Linked DNA regions of Homo sapiens: regions 1, 2, 3 and 4 are each linked to region 5. The links are contacts of gene promoters, found by promoter capture Hi-C in blood cells and fetal thymus (Javierre and others, 2016). All regions are on one chromosome and are shown on one strand. Each heading gives the region's core, a stretch centred on a gene start or on the middle of the fragment in contact. The rest is flanking DNA. Distances are from core to core; before and after follow the strand shown. Region 1 holds the start of POLD1 (DNA polymerase delta 1, catalytic subunit). Region 2 overlaps MYH14 (myosin heavy chain 14). Region 3 overlaps MYH14 (myosin heavy chain 14). Region 4 overlaps NAPSA (napsin A aspartic peptidase). Region 5 holds the start of CLEC11A (C-type lectin domain containing 11A).

Evidence for each region. The method cuts DNA at HindIII sites, captures the fragments that hold promoters and counts their contacts. A CHiCAGO score of 5 or more calls a contact.
Region 1: the fragment with the promoter of POLD1 here is called in contact with the fragment with the promoter of CLEC11A in region 5 in 3 of 17 cell types (naive CD4 T cells, activated CD4 T cells and naive CD8 T cells); the score reaches 5.7 in naive CD4 T cells.
Region 2: a contact is called between a fragment that was not itself captured here and the fragment with the promoter of CLEC11A in region 5, in 5 of 17 cell types (naive B cells, total B cells, activated CD4 T cells and 2 more). The highest score is 8.9, in naive B cells.
Region 3: a contact is called between a fragment that was not itself captured here and the fragment with the promoter of CLEC11A in region 5, in 1 of 17 cell types (naive B cells). The highest score is 5.4, in naive B cells.
Region 4: a fragment that was not itself captured here is called in contact with the fragment with the promoter of CLEC11A in region 5 in 7 of 17 cell types (fetal thymus, naive B cells, naive CD4 T cells and 4 more); the score reaches 9.9 in fetal thymus.

The regions. Positions count from the first base shown.
Region 1 is chr19:50,381,898-50,386,495 of GRCh38, reverse strand. POLD1 (DNA polymerase delta 1, catalytic subunit) reads right to left here and starts at 2,149. Exons shown (of 27, transcript NM_002691.4): 1 at 2,106-2,149. It overlaps NR1H2 (nuclear receptor subfamily 1 group H member 2), which reads right to left. Exons shown (of 10, transcript NM_007121.7): 9 at 4,322-4,530; 10 at 3,108-4,040. The coding sequence ends at 3,894. RefSeq lists an enhancer at 915-1,416 and silencers at 2,136-2,225, 2,256-2,375, 2,386-2,485. The HindIII fragment of the contact is 22,211 bases long and covers 1-4,598 here.
Region 2 is chr19:50,279,426-50,283,475 of GRCh38, reverse strand. It overlaps MYH14 (myosin heavy chain 14), which reads right to left. Exons shown (of 43, transcript NM_001145809.2): 31 at 3,335-3,439; 32 at 3,093-3,245; 33 at 1,634-1,882. Among named protein-coding and RNA genes, the nearest start is that of KCNC3, 48 kb to the left of the region's middle. The HindIII fragment of the contact is 2,331 bases long and covers 441-2,771 here.
Region 3 is chr19:50,248,011-50,252,707 of GRCh38, reverse strand. It overlaps MYH14 (myosin heavy chain 14), which reads right to left. Exons shown (of 43, transcript NM_001145809.2): 13 at 3,569-3,721; 14 at 2,885-3,058; 15 at 2,020-2,193; 16 at 1-69. Among named protein-coding and RNA genes, the nearest start is that of MYH14, 47 kb to the right of the region's middle. The HindIII fragment of the contact is 982 bases long and covers 1,546-2,527 here.
Region 4 is chr19:50,358,632-50,362,764 of GRCh38, reverse strand. NAPSA (napsin A aspartic peptidase) reads left to right here. Exons shown (of 9, transcript NM_004851.3): 2 at 452-593; 3 at 673-796; 4 at 984-1,102; 5 at 1,625-1,824; 6 at 2,903-3,025; 7 at 3,118-3,262; 8 at 3,656-3,754; 9 at 3,985-4,133. The region is part of intron 3 of LOC105372437 (a long non-coding RNA gene); the gene reads right to left. Among named protein-coding and RNA genes, the nearest start is that of NAPSA, 4.9 kb to the left of the region's middle. The HindIII fragment of the contact is 5,380 bases long and covers 1-4,133 here.
Region 5 is chr19:50,721,498-50,725,573 of GRCh38, reverse strand. CLEC11A (C-type lectin domain containing 11A) reads right to left here and starts at 2,210. Exons shown (of 4, transcript NM_002975.3): 1 at 1,902-2,210; 2 at 1,483-1,669; 3 at 973-1,164; 4 at 1-552. The coding sequence starts at 2,048. The coding sequence ends at 107. RefSeq lists silencers at 642-701, 742-861. The HindIII fragment of the contact is 4,317 bases long and covers 1-3,695 here.

The DNA.
Region 1 (4,598 bases), core at 900-3,399, 340 kb after region 5:
AGTTGGGGTCTCCAGCATCACTCTGCACAGTGTCCGGTTACTTCAAGACATGAGTTTAGGCCGGGTGTGGTGGCTCACACCTGTAATCCCAGCACTTTGGGAGGCCGAGGTGGGAGGATTACTTGAGGTCAGGGATTCGAGACCAGTCTGGGCAACATGACAAAACCCTGTCTCTACTAAAAATACAAAAATTAGCTGGGCGTGGTGGCACACACCTGTAATCCCAGCTACTCGGAAGCCTGAGGCATGAGAATCGCTTGAACCCGGGAGGTGGAGGTTAGTGAGCCGAGATCGCGCCACTGCACTCCAGCCTGGGCGACAGAGCAAGACCCTGTCTCAAAAACCAAAAAAAAAAAGACATGTGAGTTGAAACTCCCTGTGAATATCAACCACTCTGGTGAGTCTTCCCTGAGCGCACAGGTTCTTCTCTTGGCTCCCAAAGACTATCACTGCTCCGCCATAGCTCAGCGCACTCTGGACTGAAATCTCCTGTCCTTCCCCAACCAAACTGAATGATCATTGGCTCCCCAGTGCTCAGCAGAGGGCCTGTCCAAACAGCAGCTGTCAGAAACACATAAGAGAGGGAAGAGCATTTCAGGGGGAGGGAAGGAACCTCTCTAGGGGGAAGAGAGACCTGTGGGGGGGAAGTGCAGGAAGGAGGAGAAGCGGCCGTGCGTGGTGGCTCACGCCTGTAATCCCAGCACTTTGGGAGGCCGAGGCAAGTGGATCACCTGAGGTCAGGAGTTCGAGACCAGCCTGGCCAACACGGCGAAACCCCATCTCTACTAAAAATACAAAAAATGAGCTGGGCATGGCAGTGGGTGCCGTAATCCCAGCTACTCAGGAGGCTGAGGCACGAGACTCGCCTGAACTCGGGAGGCGGAGGTTGCAATGAGCTGAGTTTGCACCACTGCATTCCAGCCTGGGTGACAGAGCAAGACTCTGTCTCAAAAAAAAAAAAAAAAAAAAGAGAAGACAGTGGCAACAAGTTCCTTCAGTGGAAGGGCTGAGGCGAGGCACTGACATCGCCCTGCCCACTCCTGGCTCCGCTCTAAACCCTGCCCACTCACTCCCCCACTAATCTTTGCCTTCAGAGCGGCAACCCCAACCTGCTTCTCCCTTAGCCTTCCCCATCCAGCCTGCTGCTCAAACCACAAACCCAGGAGTCATCCTGGACTCTTCCCCTTGCTCCTACGCCCAGTCCATCAGCCAGTCCCCCTGTCTCCGCCCGCAAAGGTAACCGGAGCCTGATTCTCTGCCTGCAGGACGCTCTCCCTCCTAACAGATCTCCCTCCTTCCATTCTTATTCCTGCTACAATCCAATTTCCACTCAGTGGTGAGTTTTTCAAAACATGGGGCGAATCGTGTTGTTTCCACGCTCAAACCCTCCCACGGCTCCCCGCTGAACCTAGAATAAAGGAGAAATTCCATACCAAGTTTTACAAGGCCCTATAGGATCTAGTTCCCCATCATGACTCCGACCTCATCTGTGTTTCTCTCGTCCCCTCGGCTCCTGCTACAAATACGCCAAGCTCCTTCCACCTCAGGGCTTTGCACTTGAGGGTCCCAGAGCGGTCGATTCTGGACCACTCCAGCTAAAGCAACAGGCTCTTCGCTCATTATCACGTTACCCTGCGTTAGTTTCCTTCTGAGAGCATCTCACAGCCCCAGAGCACTGCTTTACTGATCTATTAAAACTCATCACTTGTCTACCGTCTGTCTTCCCGAGACAGGGACTTCTCTGACTTGTTCCTGCTTCCAGAAAAGTGCCTGGCACAGAGTACTCAAACACCCAGCGAATCCAGGATGACACCAAGCCCGCACGTGCACCACCCAGTCCCCCCAGCTCCTCCCGGGCCACGTCCCGCCCCACGGTGCCCGGCGCATGCGCCCCCTGCCCGCCGAGGAATTCCACCCCCACCCCGGCCTTTTCCTGCTCGTCCCCGCGCCCTCGCCCAGGAAACCCCTGGCCCCTGCCCTCTCCTGCGCGCCCCCGGGCCAAAGGGTGCCCTCGCAACCGTCTCTCAGATCTATGTGCCTGGCTGCTCAAGCCCCGTTCCCTACCAGGCCCACTGCCCCGAACTCCCTTTTTCCCCTCTACTCACCCGCTTCAAACAGCGTTTCCCGCCACAGCCTACGCCGCCGTGACCCCTGACTCCCGCGCGCGCAAGCCCAGAGCCGCGGCGCTCAGAGACGGGCCACGCCCCCGCCTGCCCAAGTGCGGGCAAGGCCACGCCCCGCTTGTTCGACTGCAGGGCAGGCCCCGCCCCCTCTCTCAGCTTCCGAAGTGGCCTCGCCCCCTTGCTGAAAAATTCCCTTAACTCCGCCTCCCCATGACCTGTCTGCCCGAAGCCACGCCCCTCCGCGCGGCTACCTTCACGACCTCGTGCGGTCTGGGCGCGCCGCGGTTCTGTTCTCTCTCCTCCCACCCTCGGGTGTTGCGCGCGCATCCTCCGCGTCCCCCCGCCCGCCTCTCGCCCGGGGCCGTGTAGGGAGCGCTGCCCCGTCGCTGCCCAGCAGCCAGCTGGTGACCTGACGCCCAAGATCCCCGCAGAGGCTGGCCGATAAGCGGTAGAGTCCTGGCTTGATCTGTTCTCCTTCATCCTAGCTTCAGTTTCCCTATACGTAAATTAGACTCAACAACGCATGATAGGGACACTTGTGGGGCGCCCGGTACACTACTCTTAGGATAAGGTGATCATTGGTAACTACTCTCACTTCCGCTGTTCCCCGCCCCAAATAAATACACCTTTAAGTTGCATCCCTCCATCCAACCCCCCTTTCGCCCTCGATTGGAATTGCTCATTCAGCTCCTTCAGGGCTGGCACAGGGGCAGGAAGGATTGGAGGAACTTCGTCGCTTCGCTCCGAACTCCTGGCGTCTCTCCTTTCAAACTTTGCACGTGCTGTTCCCTCAACTTGGAGGCCCAGCCCCCAGGCTCTTGTTTTAGGTCCCAGCGATTGCCTCTGTTGTGATACCTTCCCTGATTTCCTCTAGCCCCACCACAGTGCCACGCTCATTAAAGTCCCTATCCCCCGAGTCTTGGTAGGAGGATGGTTATCTTGTTCACAGATGTTTCCAGTGCCTAGAATTGTGCCTAACTGTAGTTAATGCTCTGGAAACATTTATTGGGTGAATGTCTCCATCTCTAGAATGGCCAACCCAGTGCCTGGCCCACAGGAGGCCTCAGCAAACACTTGTTGTTCGGACAGAAGTCCAGGTCCCCTCATTCACTTAAATCCTGTTTATCCTTCAAGGGTGAGTTCTGATTCACCTTGTCCAGGGAGGTGACCCTGAGGCTGAGGCCTCTGTCCTGAACTTTCACAGCAGGCGACACACCACCCAACACTGGGACCCTATGTGCCACCCTTTTCCCAACAGCCTGGGGACACCCAGTCCCACCTGCTCAATCAGGTTCGGGCACCCAGTGTCACTGAGGTCCCTAGAAGCCCGCGCCCTCTCCATCTTGCACTCCAGCTCCGGGCTGGATTGTATTCATATTTTATTTTCCTGTTTCTGTTTTTAGTTTTTATTAAATAAAAGCAGAGGAAGAGGAAGGCCCTGGTCTCCCGGGCTAGGGGGGAGAGCCATGGGTCCTCCCCTCCCTCTGTTCAAGGTGCACTGCGTGCTGGGCTTGAGGTGTAAGCTGGGGAGGGAGGGCAGCCGGGAAGGGTCAGTGGTCGGGACCTGCAACCCTTTCACCCCTTCTGGAAGACTCGCTGGGCAGGGAGGGAGCCTCCTGGACCTGGACTGGGGCTTATCCCAAGGGATGAGAGCCGATAGGTCTACAGGCTCGGCCCAGGGCCCCTTCCACCCTAGGAAGAGGAAGGGGTGCCGGCGTCTATCTGCTGGAGGGTGGTCAGGCAAGGCTGTGGGGCTGGGTGGCCAGCCCCTCACTCGTGGACGTCCCAGATCTCCGACAGCAGAGGCGGCAGCTTCTTGTCCTGGAGCCGCAAGGCGAAGACCTGCTCCGAGTGCACAGAGCTCAGCGTGCGCAGGCTCACCAGCTTCATGAGCATGCGCGGGAAGCGCAGCTGGTCCTGAGGGAGGAGGCAGGTGGGCGCTGGCTGAGCCCCTGCCCTGCCAGGCTTTGGGAGGCCCACCCCAACAGAAAGGAGGGCCCCTCCCCGACCAGGCGTGGGAGCCAGCGTGGGGCCCGCCTCTGTGCTTGGACTAGACCTGGCTCCCAGTCGAGCAGGGTGGGGCCTGAGGAAAGACTCTGCGGAGGGGAGGGCAGTGTGGCTGGCAGAACCCAGCCTGAACGGACCACGTGGGCCGCGGGACGTAGTTGGCTCTGCGCAGAGGCTCTGCGGGGCCCTACCTGCGGCCTCTTGATGCGCGTGTAGGACAGCAGCGCCTCCACGTAGGGCTGCTGCAACGCCTCCACGCGGCCCGGCTCCTGCACGTTGGGCCGGTCGGCCGAGAAGATGTTGATGGCGATGAGCAGGGCGTACTCAGCGTCGTCCAGGCCCAGCCGCCGCATGGCCCGCGAGAACTCGAAGATGGGGTTGATGAACTCCACCTGCAGGCCTGCGGGGCGGGAGGCAGCCCGTGACTCCCTCAGCCCGAAACCGTGCCCCACATCCTGGACCCTGGCG
Region 2 (4,050 bases), core at 357-2,856, 440 kb after region 5:
TGGAATACATTATTGATATGCAAAAATATGGATGGATCTCAGACTAATTATTTTGAGGCTGGGTGCGGTAGCTTACTCCTATAATCCCAGCACTTCGGGAGGCCGAGGTGGGTGGATCACTTGAAGCCAGGAGTTCGAGACCAGCCTTGCCAAAATGGTGAAACCTCGTCTCTATTAAAAACACAAAAATTAGCCAGGCATGGTGGTGCACACCTGTAATCCCAGCTACTTGGGAGGCTGAGGCACGAGAATCGCTTGAACCTGAGAGGTGGAGGTTGCAGTGAGCTGAGATCGTGCCACTGCACTCTAGCCTTGGTGACACAGCGAGACTCTGTCTCAAAAAAAAAAAATTATTTTGAGTAAAATAAGCCCATCCCAAAAGAGATTTATGTGAAAATAATTTATATAAAATTCCAGAAGATGCCAAAAATAATAAAGCTTCAATGACCTGTGGAAGAGTATTACAATCAAATCATATGTATTTGGAGTCCAAGAAGAAGGGGAAGGAGAGAGAGTGGGAGATAAAAATATTTGAAGAAATAATGGCTGAAATGTTCCACATTTGATCAAAAACATCAACCCACAGCTACAGGAAGCACAGTGAATCTAAAGCAGGATAAATACAAAAAACCCACAGCTGGGCATATCACAGTCAAACCACTAAGAACCAAACATAAAGAGAGAAATCGTAAGTCAGCTAGAAAAACATACTGCACCACCTACAGGGAAATGACAATTTAAAAAAATTTTTTTTAATTTTTTATTTTTTTTTTGAGATGGAGTCTTGCTCTATCACCCAGGCCGGAGTGCAGTGGCACGATCTTGGCTCACTGCAACCTCCGCCTTTCCAGTTCAAGTGATTCTCCTGCCTCAGCCTCCCGAGTAGCTAGGATTACAGGCGCACACCGCCATGCCCAGCTAATTTTTTTGTATTTTAGTAGAGACGGGGTTTCACCGTGTTGCCCATGCTGGTTGTGAACTCCTGAGCTCAGGCAATCCGCCCGCCTTGGCCTCCCAAAGTGCTGGGATTACAGGCATGAGCCACAGTGCCCAGCTTCACACTGCATTTTCTAAATGAATAAAATAAAGCACAGAGAGGTTGAGCAATTTGCCCAAGCCACACAGCCATCAAGAGGCCGAATTGGGATCTGAACCTCAGGATTGCCTGATCTGAACTCTCTAAGGTTCTGTGATTTTTATTTCATCCTCAGGCTGCCAGATGCTTGGTATTATTGCCATTTTCCAGATGGGCGAACTGAAGCTGAGATGGAAAAAGCAACTTGCCTGAGGTACCCCGTGAATCAGCAGAAGTGAGATGAGTTATTTGATTTAATTCTCATAAGCAATCTCTGGGGTACTGAAGGTATTCGTATATTTTGTCATCCAAAAACCAGGGCAGCTCTGAAAGTAAAAGTGGGTGCTACGAGGAATTATGCTGTGGCAAGAGGCATGAATCAGGACAGAGGGATGTCCTATTTTACAGAGGCCCAGAGCAAAGAAGGGTCTTGCTTCCTGGTCCACTACAACTGCCTAGTTGAGCCGTGACAGCACGGATTACTGGTTCCTCACAACGACCATGGGAAGCGTAGATGGACTTGCTGATTCCCCGGCTGGGTGAACTGAGGTGCCCCACCTGGTCAAACTTGCGCTGCTTCTTCTCCAGGGTGCTCACAAGCTGCCGCTGCTGCTCCAGGTCCATGGTGGCGTCGTCCAGCTCCTGCTGCAGCCGGCGGCGGCCCCGCTCCAGCCGATCCACGGTCTCTGTCTTTTCTGCCAGGCGCTGGGTCAGGGCCTCGGCCTCCCGGGCTGCCCGGCGCCGTGCCTCCTCCCCTGCCTCCAGTGCCCCTGCCTCCTCCTCCTGGCGCCGCCGCCACTCGGAAAGCTGAGGGGAGGAGAGAGAGGGTGGTTGGTGGTCACGGCCATGAGTGACCAAGGTGTAAGCTGGTGGTGCTCCATTTCCAGGATGAAGAGACTGAGGCCTGAAGAGGGAAAGGGGTCATTCTGCTGGGCTCTTCTGCCTCTGAGTGGTGTGAAGTTGTGAATACTATGAGCCCTAGTTCTTCCAGGGAATTAAAATTACTCCCTCCAAGATGCAGAGGTGAATCAGACCTGGAGTCTTTCCTGGGGAGCCCCTCGGCTGCTGGGGGAGACACAGAGTCACAGCCAGGGTGATAGGGGTTAAGGTAGCAGTATGGGAGCTATGGAGGTCCACAGGAAGTGCCCAGAATCTGTTTAGAACATTCAGGAGAAACTTCCTGAAGGAGGAGCATTTGAGATGGGTCTTGAAGTATGCATAGAAGTCTGCCAGTTGAAGGATATCTGCAGGCACGTACCATCACTCATTCATTCAATAGGCATTTCTCAACGCCTACCATACATCAGGCCCTATATCAGGCTGTGCTACAGACCTGGATCTAACTCTGATGGGATTCTAGTTTGAAGGGGCTCTCAGTCTGGTGGGGAGACTCATGGGCAGAGACAGTCCCAGCCCAAGGTGACTGGAGTTGGGACAGAGGAGAAAGAGAAGACGGGTCAGGAAACTTCCCACAGGGGAGCCTAATGCTAAGTCTGGAAAAATAAAAGGTTTTTTTCAAATAAAATAGGAAAGTAGAGATAGAGATGAATACAGCTAAAGGCAGAGGAAGGACCAGAGATTGCAGGGCCTCAATGCCTGACTGAGAGGCATGGACTTTGTCTAGGAGTACTGGGGAGGCGTGGGAGAGCTGTGAGCAGAGGAGGGACAGGGTCAGCTCCAGGTAAAGAAAGAAGCTTCTGGGGCTGTGCAGGGGATGAGCTGTTAGGGGAGAGGCTGGAGGCCCAGAGGCCAAGAGGAGGATCTAGATGGGAGAGGACGGCACTGGAGCTGGGGCTGAGCTGGAGCTGGGACAAGGGATGAGGCTGAGAGTCAGGGGTCAGGACAGCCAGGGCTGGGCATGGGCTGTGGGGGGTAAGGGGGAGTCAGAGATGAGAAAGGCACCCATGGGTCTGGCCTATGAGAAGGTGGGCAGCATGGCCATCCCTGAGCTGGGGAACCCAGGAGGAGCAGTGAGGGGGGCTGTGCCTCCCTGAAGGTCTTACGTAGGGCTGCTCACCTGGGCCTGGGCAGTCTGCAGTTCACGGCCCGCCCGTTCCCTGGCAGCTGCCTCCTCCTCCAGCTGCTCACGCAGCCCGGCTGCCTCAGCCTCCATGGCTCGCACCCGGGACCCCAAGGCCAATTTCGCCCTGGTCTCCTCCTGCAGCAGCTCCTGTAGATGGAGGAGACGGCAATGTCAGGTGTGGCTGGGAGGACAAGGAGGGGAGGGTGACGGTGGAGCCGAAGGGCAGGCAGGGTCACCTGGGCATCGTGCAGCTGGGCTTCTGTGCTGCTCAGCTCCTTGCTAAGACGGATGGTTTTGGACTCAGCCTCGTTCAGCGCCCCAGACACATTCTCCAGTTCAGCCTGCAGGGAAGGGACGGGAATGAAGCCCTCCAATCGTGGCTTCCACCCAGTGACCCCATCTGCCTCAACTCTCTACCACACTGGCAGGAATGTGAAATGTTACAGCTGCCGTGGAAAACAGTCTGGCAGATCCACAGATGCTTAAACATAGGGTTCCCACATGACCCAACAATCCCGCTCCTAGGTGCATACCCAAAAGAAATGAACGCATAGGTCTATGCAGAAACTCGTACCGGAATGTTCTCAGTGGCATTACTCACCATCGCCAAGAGGCGGGAACAGCCCCAATGTCCATCAATAAACGAATGGATAAACAAATGTGGAATATCCATACAACGGGCATTATTCGGCAATAGAAAGGTATATGGATCTATTGCGTGCTGTTGTTTTTTGGGGTTTTTTTGAGACAGAGTTTCACTCTTGTTGCCCAGGCTAGAGCGCAATGGTGCAATCTCGGCTCACTGCAACCTCCGCCTCCCAGGTGCAAGTGATTCTCCTGCCTTAGCCTCCCAAGTAGCTAGGATTACAGGCATGCGCCACCACACCCGGCTAATTTTGTATTTTTAGTAGAGACGAAGTTTCACCATGTTGGTCAGGCAGCTGGTCTTGAA
Region 3 (4,697 bases), core at 787-3,286, 470 kb after region 5:
CAAGGCTGCGACGTTGTCATTCAGAGGGTCCATGTTTTTCATCAGCCACTCGTTGGCCTTGTAGTCGACCTGAATGAAGTCAGGTAGAGGAGGGCGATGACTTGCAGGCTCAGACATTCTCTGGATTTCCTAAGGAGCCTTCCAGAAGCTCTGAGACTCCCAGGTCTGGAGCTCACCATGGACAAGCGAGCACTGGTGCCACCTTGTGTCCATATTCTGAACTGCACCCCACCAGCATGGTCCCCTCTCTCTCCTTCCCCTCTATGCCCCCTGCCACCTCTGTGACCTCCACCACCACCACTTTCTTCCTATTCATTCCGCTCCAGCCACCCTGGCCTCCGCACTGTTCCTCAAACATGCGAGCTTACTCCCACCTCGGGGTTTTACCCCTGCGGTTCCTGCCACCTGGGGTTCTGTCTCTGTGGGTTTCACACCACTGGCTCCTTCTGGGTACTCAGGGCTTTGCTGTGGGGCTCCATAGAGTCACGATCTTGGCCGCTACAATTCTCTGCATATGTGCCCCCCACCAGACAGCGGTCCCCCGAGGGCAGGGCCCAGGTCTGACTCACGGCCTAGCAGAGGGCTGGGTACAGGGGGAGTTCTGGAGTATGTCTGGGGAAGAAACTGAGGGCTAGACACAGAACACATGGAATCTCCTGCCTCCCAGCCATTGTCTATGCTGTTCCCTCTGCCTGGAGAGCCCTTCCCACCCTTCACCCATCCTCTGGGGCTGCCTGGTCCACATCATCAAAACCAGGGGTCAGCAAACTATGGCTCACAGGCAAAATCCAGCCTGCCACCTCTTTTTGCAAATACTTTCACTGGAATAGGGCTGGGCGCGGTGGCTCACACCTGTAATCCCAGCACTTTGGGAGGCCTATGCGGGTGGATCAACTGAGGTCAGGAGTTCGAGAGCAGCCTGGCCAACATGGTGAAACCCTGTCTCTACTAAAAATACAAAAATTAGCCAGGCATGGTGGCAGGTGCCTGTAATCCCAGCTACTGGGGAGGCTGAGGCAGAAGAATTGCTTGAACCTAGGAGGCGGAGATTGCAGTGAGCCGAGATCGTGCCACTGCACTCCAGCCTGGGTAACAGAGGGAGACTCTGTCTCAAATAAAAAAAAATACATATATATATGTGTGTGTGTGTGTGTGTGTGTGTGTGTGTGTGTGTGTGTGTGTGTGTAGTGTGTATATATATATGTGTGTATATATATATGTGTGTATATATATATGTGTATATATATATAGGAATAGAACCTTCATTTATGTCTTCATAGTCAAACTCATGGGGGCCCTTCTGGGGGCAAGAGAGCCCTCGAAACTGTTTCTCAGTCTGTTTTTCCTTTCTTTTTCCCTGGGGGCTTGAAGATACTTATGTATTATCTGTGGCTCTTTTTGTGTGACCACAGCAGAATTGTGTAGCTGTGACAGAGATCGTCTGGCCCACAAAGCTGAAACTATTTACTATCGGACCCTTTACAGAAAATGTTTGCCGGCCCTTGACTGAGATTTGAGATTGAGCATATTCTCTTCTGTGAAGCTTTCCCAGGTACTTCTCTTCTGGGCTCTGACACTACCCTCAGCTGCCTCCACTGAAAGACCTATTAACCTTATATCCTGATCGTCTGTATTTGCCTCCCTCCCAGATAGGGATCTTTGTGAGGACAGAAACCATGTTTGATCTGTGTATCCAGCTTTGCTCGGCCCCGAGCTGGGCACACAAATGGCACCCCGCACATATCTGCTGAATAAGTGGATAAAATGCACATAGATCGCCTCCTGATGAACTCCTACCCATCCCTCAAAACCCACTGCAAATATCACCTCTTTGAGGAAGTTTTTGGTGATCCCATCAGACAGAATCCTTGCTCCTCCCTGGGCTCTCCTAGCCCCTGCTCTGTTTGTCTGGACCTCAGGAGGACCCTGTTTTCCCTCTGCACCCTCCCCCCATCTGTAGCCAGTGGAGATCCCTTGATCCCCACTCCCACATGCCCCAAGGCCGGCCCCAGCCCCTACCTTGCCCGCGTAGTGGAGAACACTGAAGTCGGCCTGATCCCGCAGGTGCCTCGGCCGCTGGAACTTGGGGTGGCCGCCCTGCTCCTGGGCTACCTTCTCCACAAACGACTTGTCTGTGGCCTTCGGGAACCAGCACTCCTCATCCAGCAGGGCCAGGAGTCCAGGGGGGTTGGCCTGGCCATTGACAGCAGGGGGAGAGTAAGTCAGATCCCCACATATTGGACACTCAGGTGGCTGCTGATTTTTAGCTCTTATAAGTCACACTTGGACATAAAAACAAACGTGAGATGCCAGGCACGGTGGCTCACGCCTGTAATCCCAGCACTTTGGGAGGCCGAGGCGGGTAGATCACGAGGTCAGGAGATCGAGACCATCCTGGCTAACACAGTGAAACCCCCGACTCTACTAAAAATACAAAAAATTAGCCGGGCGTGGTGGCGGGCACCTGTAGTCCCAGCTACTCGGGAGGCTGAGGCAGGAGAATGGCGTGAACCCAGGGGGCGAAGCTTGCAGTAAGCAGAGATCGCGCCGCTGCACTCCAGCCTGGGCGATAGAGCGAGACTCCGTCTCAAGAAAAAAACAAAACAAAACAAAACAAACAAACAAAAAACAAACGTGAGAACAACAGTTACGGTGAGAGCTCTGATTAACCGATTGATTTGAGCCGGGCCCTGTGGCAGGCACATTCTGGGCCCTAATCACCTATGGTCACAAAAGATCGAGGAAGCAGGTGCTGTCACCTTCCCCACAGAACCCATGGGGCATCCTGAGGCCCAGCAGAGGAGGAGCTAGACCCTGGTCTCGCAGATGCTGGGAGAGACGGATCTGAACCGTGAGTGTGGGCTGGGAGGGGCCTGGGGCTCACCGGCCGCTCGATGAGGTCGATGCAGGGCTGCAGGTCGAGGCCAAAGTCGAGGAAGGTCCAGGGGATGCCCTCACGCTGGTACTCCTCCTGCTCCAGCACGAACATGGTGTGGTTGAAGAGCTGCTGCAGCTTCTCGTTGGTGTAGTTGATGCAGAGCTGCTCGAAGGAGTTCAGCTGCAGGGACGCAGGACACGTGAGCTGGGAGGATGGAGAGGGACAGAGACCCAGAGACAGGGGACAGAGACCCAGAGACAGGGGACAGAGATGCATCGAGAGGGGACAGAGACCCAGAGAGAGGGGGACAGAGACCCAGAGAGAGGGGGACAGAGACCCAGAGACAGGGGACAGAGCCAGAGACAGGGGACAGAGACCCAGAGACAGAGAGGCAGAGACCCAGAGACAGGGGACAGAGATGCAGAGAGAGAGGACAGAGACCCAGAGAGAGAGGGGGACAGAGACCCAGAGACAGGGGACAGAGACCCAGAGAGAGAAGGGGACAGAGACCCAGAGACAGGGGACAGAGACCCAGAGAGAGGGGGACAGAGACCAGAGAGAGGGGGGAACAGAGACTCAGAGAGAGAGAGGGGGACAGAGACCAGGGAGAAGGGGAGAGACCCAGGGCTTCAGAAAGGACCAGGACCGGAGTGAGGAAGTTGGCATCCCCCTCCCAGCACAAGGGTGGACCTGGAAGATCTCAAAGCCCGCGATGTCCAGGATGCCCAGGAAGGAGGCGCCTTGGCGGGGGCTGCGGTCCAAGGCCCGGTTGAGGCGCAGAACCAGCCAGCGGAAGAGGCGCTCGTAGGTGGCCTTGGCCAGGGCCTCCAGCGCGAAGTCAGCCTGTGGGACAGGGCTCATGGTAAGGGCGCAGCCTGCACATCAGCAGACTGAAAGACGTCGGGGGTGAACCGGGGAAGGGCCCCCAGCTCGTCCCCCTTAAGGTCGCCTCCCAGCTCCTTGAGTGTAAGTACCATCAAGAACAATGCCATGAACAACAGGCAGACATTCCTGAAGTCCTACTGCGCACCAGGTACTACATGACGGGCTCGGATGTGTTAGCCCTTGAATCCTTCCCTCACCCCCTCAAAGCAGTTTCTACCGCACAGCGGTTAAGAGCGTGGACTCTGGAGCCGGACAACTTGGGTTTGAATCCCAGCTCTGCCACTTAGGGGCTGTGTGATTTCAGGCATGTGAATAAACCTCTCTGTGCCTCAGTTTTCTCCTCTGTAAAATGGGAACTAACAACAGTACCCCAGCTGAGATTGAACCCGGGTCAGTGTGGCTCCCAGACTCCTCATCTCCCCCACGGGGTCTTCATCCAGGTACCTCACTGCCCAGCCTGGGGCCAGCAGAGGCCTCTGCCCAAAAGCTGGATTCTGAAACCCTCCCTGGCCTGTGGTCGCTCCACTCCACCCTCCCTGCTCATGGTGTGAGCTCCCACGATTGCCAAGACTCTGGATGCAGCCTCCTTAGGTCTCCCCGCCTCTACCTGCATCCCTGAACCCAATTCTCCATGCAGCAGCCAAGGGGATCTTTCTATGAAAGACAAACTGAATCAAGTCACTCCCTGGCTTAAAACCTCAATGGCCTCCTATGTAGTTTGAATAAAACTCACCTCCTTACTGTGGCCCCTAAGACCCTGCATGATCTGCCCCTTGCTGACATTTCTGACTGTGGATTCACCCACCCTCTCTCCCTTGCTCTTCAGCCTCACTGACCTGACCTCCTTCAATTTTCTTTTTTTCTTTTCTTTTTTTTTTTTTTTTTGAGACAGAGTCTCGCTCTGTCACCCAGGCTGAAGTGCAGTGGCGTGCTC
Region 4 (4,133 bases), core at 402-2,901, 360 kb after region 5:
GGAGTTTGAGATCAGCACGGGCAACACAGCAAGACAATTAAGATTTGACGCTTACATTTTTCTCCTCAAGGGTGGGGAAAATAGTCCCTAACCTCACGAACTGAAGCATGCAGGGGCCACCACCCAAGGGCTTTTGCAAAGGTTAGGTTTTCTGTTAGGGTCTTGGGAAATCTTTAAGAATGTCAATTCCTTGGGAATAGCTTATTTTAAGGGATTTGGACATGGAAAGGTCTGTTTGGGATGGTTTGCTCTTGTAAAGTCTTTGGGGATATTTGTCATCATGGCATCTTTGATGGGCTTTTCTGGAGGTTGTTATTGCAGGGTTTCTGGTACTGACTACTATTGTAGTGCCTTGGAGATGTTGAATTTGTCATCATATCCTATTTGGGTAAGTCTATTTAGAGGTTCTCCAAGAAGGGCAGCTTCCTGTCAATATCCTCTTTCCCTACAGCATCCCTCTTCATCGAGTCCAACCTGGACGCAGGATCCTGAACCTACTGAGGGGATGGAGAGAACCAGCAGAGCTCCCCAAGTTGGGGGCCCCATCCCCTGGGGACAAGCCCATCTTCGTACCTCTCTCGAACTACAGGGATGTGAGTCACAGCCCCACACAGCCCTCACCCCTGCGCCCTTGAGCCAAACTCTTCGTTTACTCTCCTCTTTTGCTATCAGGTGCAGTATTTTGGGGAAATTGGGCTGGGAACGCCTCCACAAAACTTCACTGTTGCCTTTGACACTGGCTCCTCCAATCTCTGGGTCCCGTCCAGGAGATGCCACTTCTTCAGTGTGCCCTGCTGTGAGCTTCTATGTGGGAGAATAAGGCTGAATGGGGGTGAAGGGAGGAGGCGGGGCTGGACCTCAGCTTCTCAGAGGCTTTTGAGGAACTGTTCTTTTATCATGCCCTCACAGGTCAGAAAGTCAAAGGGGCAGTAGGCACTGGGGAGATTCCCTCCCCCATGACACCTTTCTGACCTCTAACCTAGGGTTACACCACCGATTTGATCCCAAAGCCTCTAGCTCCTTCCAGGCCAATGGGACCAAGTTTGCCATTCAATATGGAACTGGGCGGGTAGATGGAATCCTGAGCGAGGACAAGCTGACTGTGAGTGGCCTTTGACTCTCAGAAGTCTTGAGCCTGGGAGAACCCCATTGTCTAAGATCATCTGGCTTAGGAAGAGGCTCGAGGAGGAGCTTCCCAAGCCAATGGATGGGGCTTTTCAAGTGGGGAGGAGGGCCTGCCTTTCAGAGTGAAGGGATGGTGCGTCACAAGGAGGGGGAGGGGCTTCCTGGGTGAAGAGGTGGGGCTTCTCAAGCAGGGGGGAGGAGCTTCCAAGGTTAAGAGGTGGGGCTTCTCAAGCAGGGAGGAGGAGCTTCCTGGGTGAAGAGGTGGGGCTTCTCAAGCAGGGGAGGAGCTTCCTGGGTGAAGAGGTGGGGCTTCTCAAGGAGAAGAAAGGGGTTCCTGGGTGAAGGGGTGGGGCTTCTCAAGAGGCATAGTTTCCTAGGAAGTTGGGGCTTGCATCCAGAAGTCCCCAGACCTAGGATTCATGCCTTGGTTTGGGAGACCTCAGGACATGTGGTTATTGTCCTCCCAAAAGTAACTGGTCACATCTCAATCTACCCCTAGATTGGTGGAATCAAGGGTGCATCAGTGATTTTCGGGGAGGCTCTCTGGGAGCCCAGCCTGGTCTTCGCTTTTGCCCATTTTGATGGGATATTGGGCCTCGGTTTTCCCATTCTGTCTGTGGAAGGAGTTCGGCCCCCGATGGATGTACTGGTGGAGCAGGGGCTATTGGATAAGCCTGTCTTCTCCTTTTACCTCAACAGGTACTGGGAAGTGTGCACCTATCTATGAGTCCTATCCCCAAGAAGGAAGAGAGTCTTCCTTCAGGAAGTCACTGACCCAATGCAGGAATTCTCATTCTCAGAGTCACCCACTTACACTGTCCATTCAGGAAGTCAGCCATTCAATACAAGAAGTTGCATCCTCCATGCAGGAAGTCACCTGCCCTATAAAGAAACACCTCAACCCTATTCGAAGTCCCAGAGCTTAAATGACAACTTAAGACATACTAAGGAAACCCACCATCAGTTCAGAATGCTCCATGTTTCAAAATCAAACTAGGAAATTCCATGCCCCACCCAACAAAATACTCAGGAGCTTTCTCTTCCTCACAAAGAATGCTCAAATCCCATTTGAGAACACTGACCAGAAGTCAGGAATTGCCCGATTTAATCCAGGAAGTCCCACTCACCTGCTAGGAAGTTCAGTATTATGCTCAGAAGTCCCACCCAACATCCAAGAAGTTTCCAAGAAGTCTCCACTTTCCCTCCCAGAGGCCTGTCACACACAGTCAGAAAATCCTATGCCCACTCAGTTACCCTGACATCCAACCCACTCTAGCAGTTCTACCAACCACCTAGCAGATCCTGCTCTCCTCCACCTTCCAGGAAGTCTCCATCCCTGTTCCCATCGCTCTCAGCCAACTCAGGAAGTCTAACACCTCTCTAGATATCACAACAGGCAATTCAGAAATTCTCTTCTCCTACTCAGGAAGCCACCCCACCCCTGCACAAGTCACACCTTCAAGAGCCAATTCCAAGACACCACTGCTCTACTTGGTTACTATGATATTCAGCTCAGGAAATTCCCCAAAACTCTACCTTCCACAGCCAAATGAAGTCTCGTCTTCACTTCAGGAAGTTCTAGCTTCCACCAAGAAAAGCATCATGCTTTTCTTGCCCGGCTTCCAGTCCCAACATCTAGGCCCTTCCTGCATCCCATTACCCCGTAGGAACTCCAGAAACAACCCAGTTGGTGGGAAGTGCCATTCCTGGCAATACCTAGGGCTGAGGGAGGGCCAGTGACACTGACATCTACACTCTCTACACTCTGCCCCTGCAGGGACCCTGAAGAGCCTGATGGAGGAGAGCTGGTCCTGGGGGGCTCGGACCCGGCACACTACATCCCACCCCTCACCTTCGTGCCAGTCACGGTCCCTGCCTACTGGCAGATCCACATGGAGCGGTGAGGGACTTGGTCTCCTGGCTCTGGAGCTGGAGGCTGGGGGCCTGGACTCCTAGGACCCTGCCTCTGATGACTGCCTCCTTCCCCCTCAGTGTGAAGGTGGGCCCAGGGCTGACTCTCTGTGCCAAGGGCTGTGCTGCCATCCTGGATACGGGCACGTCCCTCATCACAGGACCCACTGAGGAGATCCGGGCCCTGCATGCAGCCATTGGGGGAATCCCCTTGCTGGCTGGGGAGGTGAGGTCCCAGTCTGGTGGGTACGGGCTGGGAAGGCTGATGGCAGTTTGACAGTGAACATCAAAGGGCCTGAGGGTGGGAGGCAAGTATTTAAGGGGCTTTCCAGGGCAGCAGGCACTGGACTTCGTGACAGATAGTCTGGAGGGTGGTGGAGGAATTGAGGACACTTTCCACGTGTCTACACTGCGACTCTGCGGATGGTGGCCGGGTGGAGGGAGACGATCATGCAGGTTTGCTTGGGACTGCGTAAGTCTAGGCGGCAGGGCCTCTGCACACAGGACGCTGAGTACCCAGGTGCTCAATAGGGAAATTACCCTATGGCACTGGGGAGCCACGGAAGGGACTGAACAGAGCAGGAATCTCTCATCTTCACTAGTTCCTCTTCTCCCCCAGTACATCATCCTGTGCTCGGAAATCCCAAAGCTCCCCGCAGTCTCCTTCCTTCTTGGGGGGGTCTGGTTTAACCTCACGGCCCATGATTACGTCATCCAGGTAGGTGGCCATCACCATGACGCCATAGTGACGTCATATGACGGTTTGAGAGGGTAGAGCTGAGAGACGTCACTAGGAAGGGAAGGGGCCACAGAAACATTTCTTTTCCCTGTGATGGCAGTTTGTTGGCGAACATCAAAGAACCCGAGGGTGGGGGGGATGGACGGGCTCCCAGGCAAATGGCCGTCCTTGTGGCCGCGACACCCAGTTGTCGTCTTGTTGCCTTGCAGACTACTCGAAATGGCGTCCGCCTCTGCTTGTCCGGTTTCCAGGCCCTGGATGTCCCTCCGCCTGCAGGGCCCTTCTGGATCCTCGGTGACGTCTTCTTGGGGACGTATGTGGCCGTCTTCGACCGCGGGGACATGAAGAGCAGCGCCCG
Region 5 (4,076 bases), core at 961-3,460:
CTGCCATTCGTGGCCAGGAAGGGAAGGGAGATTCCGGAGGAGGGTGGGCACGGCGCAGGGAAAGGCCGGGTGGTGGGATGGGCAGGGAGGCGGGGTACCGGCCCCGCTAGAAGGGGAACTCGCAGACGTAGTAGAGACGCCGCTGGCAGTCGTGGTCCCACCAGGAGCCGTCGTCAGAGGCCTGCGCCACGCAGTTCTCGAGCGTGCCACCGTTGGGCTGGTCCGGGCTGAGCGGATGCGGCGAGGCGCTGGGCTGGGCGCCGAGCTCGGGGCGGGGTGAGCGATGCCAGGCGAAGAAGGACACGCGCTGGCCGTTTTCGAAGAGGTAGAGGCCCTCGGCGCGCCGATCGTGCACGCCCAGCCACACGGGCCAGTTGTAGGGAGCGAGCGCCGCGCGCAGGTACCGAGTGAGCGCCTCCATCTGCTGGCGGTCTGCCGGCTGCGCCAGGCTCCCGCCCCGCGCCGTGCACCGCGCCTGCGCCGCCGCCTGAGCTTCGAAGTCGCGCGAGAGCAGGAAGCACTTGTGGCCCAGGCGCAGCCCCTTCAGGCAGCCTGTGGGCGGGGCCGGGTAGAGAAGGAGGCGGGGTCATGCATTCAGAGTCTGGAAGGGGGCGAGGACAAAACATCCGGGGGTGGAGGGAGGCGGGGCCAGGAACTCATGGGGAGGGCTGGGAGGAGGCGTGGTCAGAACCGCGGGAGCCAGGAGGTGGAGAGTCTGGTCCGCCAGGGGCGGGGCCAGGCGGTGGGAGCTGGACTGTAGGGGGCGTGGTGCTGCCCCAGTCGGGTCCGCGCGGGTCTGGAGTGCCCACCCGCTCCCTGCATTCAGCCTCCCAGCTCTCTAACCCCGTCCGCTAGCACACAGCAGCTCTCCCGAACTCTCCCGCCCCGGACACCTAGGGTCACCTTCTCAACCAGTCCCATTCCTGGCCCAGATAGTCTCATTTTTTTCCACCCCGCGCGCCGCGGACTCACCCTCCAAGCGGCCGTGCTCGCGCTCGGCGCGACCCTGCGCCTCCTGCAGGGCTTGCACGGCATCGCGGGTGTCGCCTGCCGCGTTCCGCAGCTGCCGCAGCCCCTGGGTCAGCTCGACCACGCGGGTGTCCAACGCGTGCAGACGGACGTGCAGCTGGTGCAGGCCTGCGTCCAGGCCGGCCAGGCGGCCCACTGCGGACAGACAGGGATCATGCTGGAGGGGGAGCCTGGAGATGCAGCGGGGGGCCTGAGGACCTGGAGAACTGGGATCTAGGGCTCCTGAGGGCGGGGTGGCGGTGGGGGGGGCACCCCGGACTCCTGGAAGGTAGGGTCGAGTGGCCCAGGCCTTTAGGAGGCATGGCCGTGGACCTGGGGCTCCTAGGGGTGTGGGGGCTCTGGGCTGGGCAATGGACAACTGAAAGGCCACTTGGCAGTGAACCGACCCTTCATTTTTGCGAAAGTGACCGCGGCGGCCTAGGAGTTTGGGGGTGAGGGCTTCTGGTTACTCACGGATGTAAGTGACGATGTCCTCAGGGGTGGGAGAGGGGCTGGGGCCGGAGGATGGGGTTGGCGTTGCTTCCTCCTCCTCTTCCTCCCCCTGGTCCTCCTCCATCTCCCAGTCCTCTTTTCCCTCAACAGTTCCGGCAGGATTCTCATCCCCCCTCCCAGCAGGCAGTCCTAGGGCTTCCTGCAGATGCTGGGGCAGGGGAGGGGTGGTGAGCCCCAGCCTGCCACCAAGATGCCCCATTCACCCCTTTCCAACTCATAACTCATTCTCTGCTGCCTGAGTCCTGTCTCTGAGCCCATCACCCTCCCACTCCTCTGAGACTATCCCAATCGCTCCTCATTGTCCATTTCCCTAACCTTGCAATACCCCCTCCCAGACCCACAGTTCACCACCCATAGCTCCCTGACACTCCAGAGCTCACCTTCAGCATCAGGGCCTCCCTCTCCCGCTCCTCCTCCTGGGCACCTCCCCAGCCTCCCTCCCACTCCCTCTCTGCTCCCCGAGCCCCATGGCCAAAGCCCAAGAGCTGGGGGACCACCAAAGCCCCCAAAAGCCAGGCTGCCTGCATTAAGCTGGACTCTTGGCACCCAAAGTTCCAGATGTCTGGATGTCTGGGGTGGGAGGGGTGGCCTCTGGGAACTGCCGAGTGCCCCTGCCCTGTGTGCAGGTCACTAGCCCCCAGGTTCCCGATTCTCCCAGCTTCTCTCTTCCTGTTCCTCTCCTCGTCTCTGTCCGGTCCGTTGGTCTCCTCTGCTTCTCTGTGTGTGTCTCTCCCCGCCCCTCTTGGCTCCCCGGAGGCCCTGCCTCTGTGGCCGGAAACCTCCAACGTTCCAAAGCCTAGATCCCGCCTTGGGTCTCCTCGCACACCCTCCTCTTTCCACTTTCCAGAGCTCGCTTCCGCCCTGCTCTTTCCTTCTGCTGTAGCCCAAAGATCAGATAATCAGGAAGAGGATGGAGCTGGCTCTCCAAGGAATCTTGGAAAACACAGGCCCCGGCCTCAGCCCAGGAACCCGCTCAGAACCATCTCGGCAGTGGTGGGATGCTGGGACCGAGCACTGCTCCCTTCTTCCCTGCCTGGCCATTCCTAAGGAGGGGCAGACCTCAGGGTCTCGCTGAGGTTGTTATTACCCTGTGGCCACCATCGCCTGCACACTCAATGGAGGAGACTCCAGGGCCCCTCCTGCCCCCTAGATTGCCCATCCTACCCTCCAAGCCCTTGTCTGGAGATCCAAGTGAGTGTGTGTGGGGGCAGGGTGACACATGTGAAGAGCACGCGTGTGACTGTGTGCATGACCCTGGAAGACGGGGCTCGGGGATTAATTGGCCACTTTACTAGAAGCCTCCTGCAGGCCAGGCTGTGGGCTGGGTGATGCTGGGGACTCCAGCTGCTTGCAGACCAGCAGCCAGATAGCTCCGGGGATGAGGGGGCTGGAGATGGGAGAGGGTGAGGAGTCTGGCGGAGCAGTCAGGGAAGGTTTCTCCAGGAGGTGAAATCGACAGACGCTAGGTTGTGTGCTCAAGGAGCTCTGAGCATTCAGCAAGCCACCTCATTTCAGCCTGGACCACTGCAGTCTCGCCCTCCCCCTCCTTCCTCCTGAGCCCCTCCAATCCCGGCTGCTTGCCGCAGCCAAAGCAATCCTTCCAAACCATAAATCAGATCACATCACTCCCCACTCCCCTGCTCCCCCACCTTCCCATCATAAGCAGGAGGGAAGCCAAGCCCGGGCCTCAGTCCTCAGCGCAGCCTACCATGCTGGGGGCTGGGAAGGAAGAACCCTTTGCACCTCTGCAGCCTCATCACCCCCATTCCCTTCACCCACCCCCAGCCTCCACCTTCCCTGGCCTCTTGGCTCATCCCCAAATACTAAGCTGATTACAACCTCAGAGCATTTGCACTAGCCCTTTCCTCCTTCTAGAAGCCTCTTTCCCCAGCTCCTTCTCATCATCGAGGTCTCAGCTCCAGGAGGTCTTCCCCAACCACCTTATCTATTCCGCAAGTTACTTTATTAAAATGCCCCATTTCATCTTTTTGGTATAATCAAGACTGGCATGATCTTGTTTGTTTATGTCTGTTCCCTGCCAATGAAAGCAGGGATTTTTATGCACTGATGCATCTCCTAGCACAAGGCCTACCTAGCACATAGTAGGTGTTCAATCAACCTGTTGAGTGGGCGAGAGGGTAGCCGTTCCTGGTGGGGTCAAAGGCCTGGAAGCTTCACCTCTTTGGTTTGCTGGCACCCAAGTTCCCAGGGTGGTGGTGGCAGGGTAGGTAGAGGTGGTGAGGGCAGTGGGAGAGAGGCTTGGAGGCAAGGAAGAACAATGCCATGCCATGCCCCTCTATGTCAGGCCCATGAGTCATGCAGGGCTTTTCCCGCCCAGGCCTGGCTGGTGGTGCCAACAAGCATGGGGCACACCAGCCAAGGATCACTGGGCCTGCTCTTCAAAGGAGGAGACCGAGGCTCTGAAACAGCATAGCCTGCTGGAGGTCACCAGTGTGGCGGCAGCTAGCCAAGGTTTCTGGCTCCAAGAGCAGGGCATCTGCCCTCGGCTGCCGGGAGCCCCAGGAGGGGCCTTGGAAATCAGTGCCTCCAGCCTT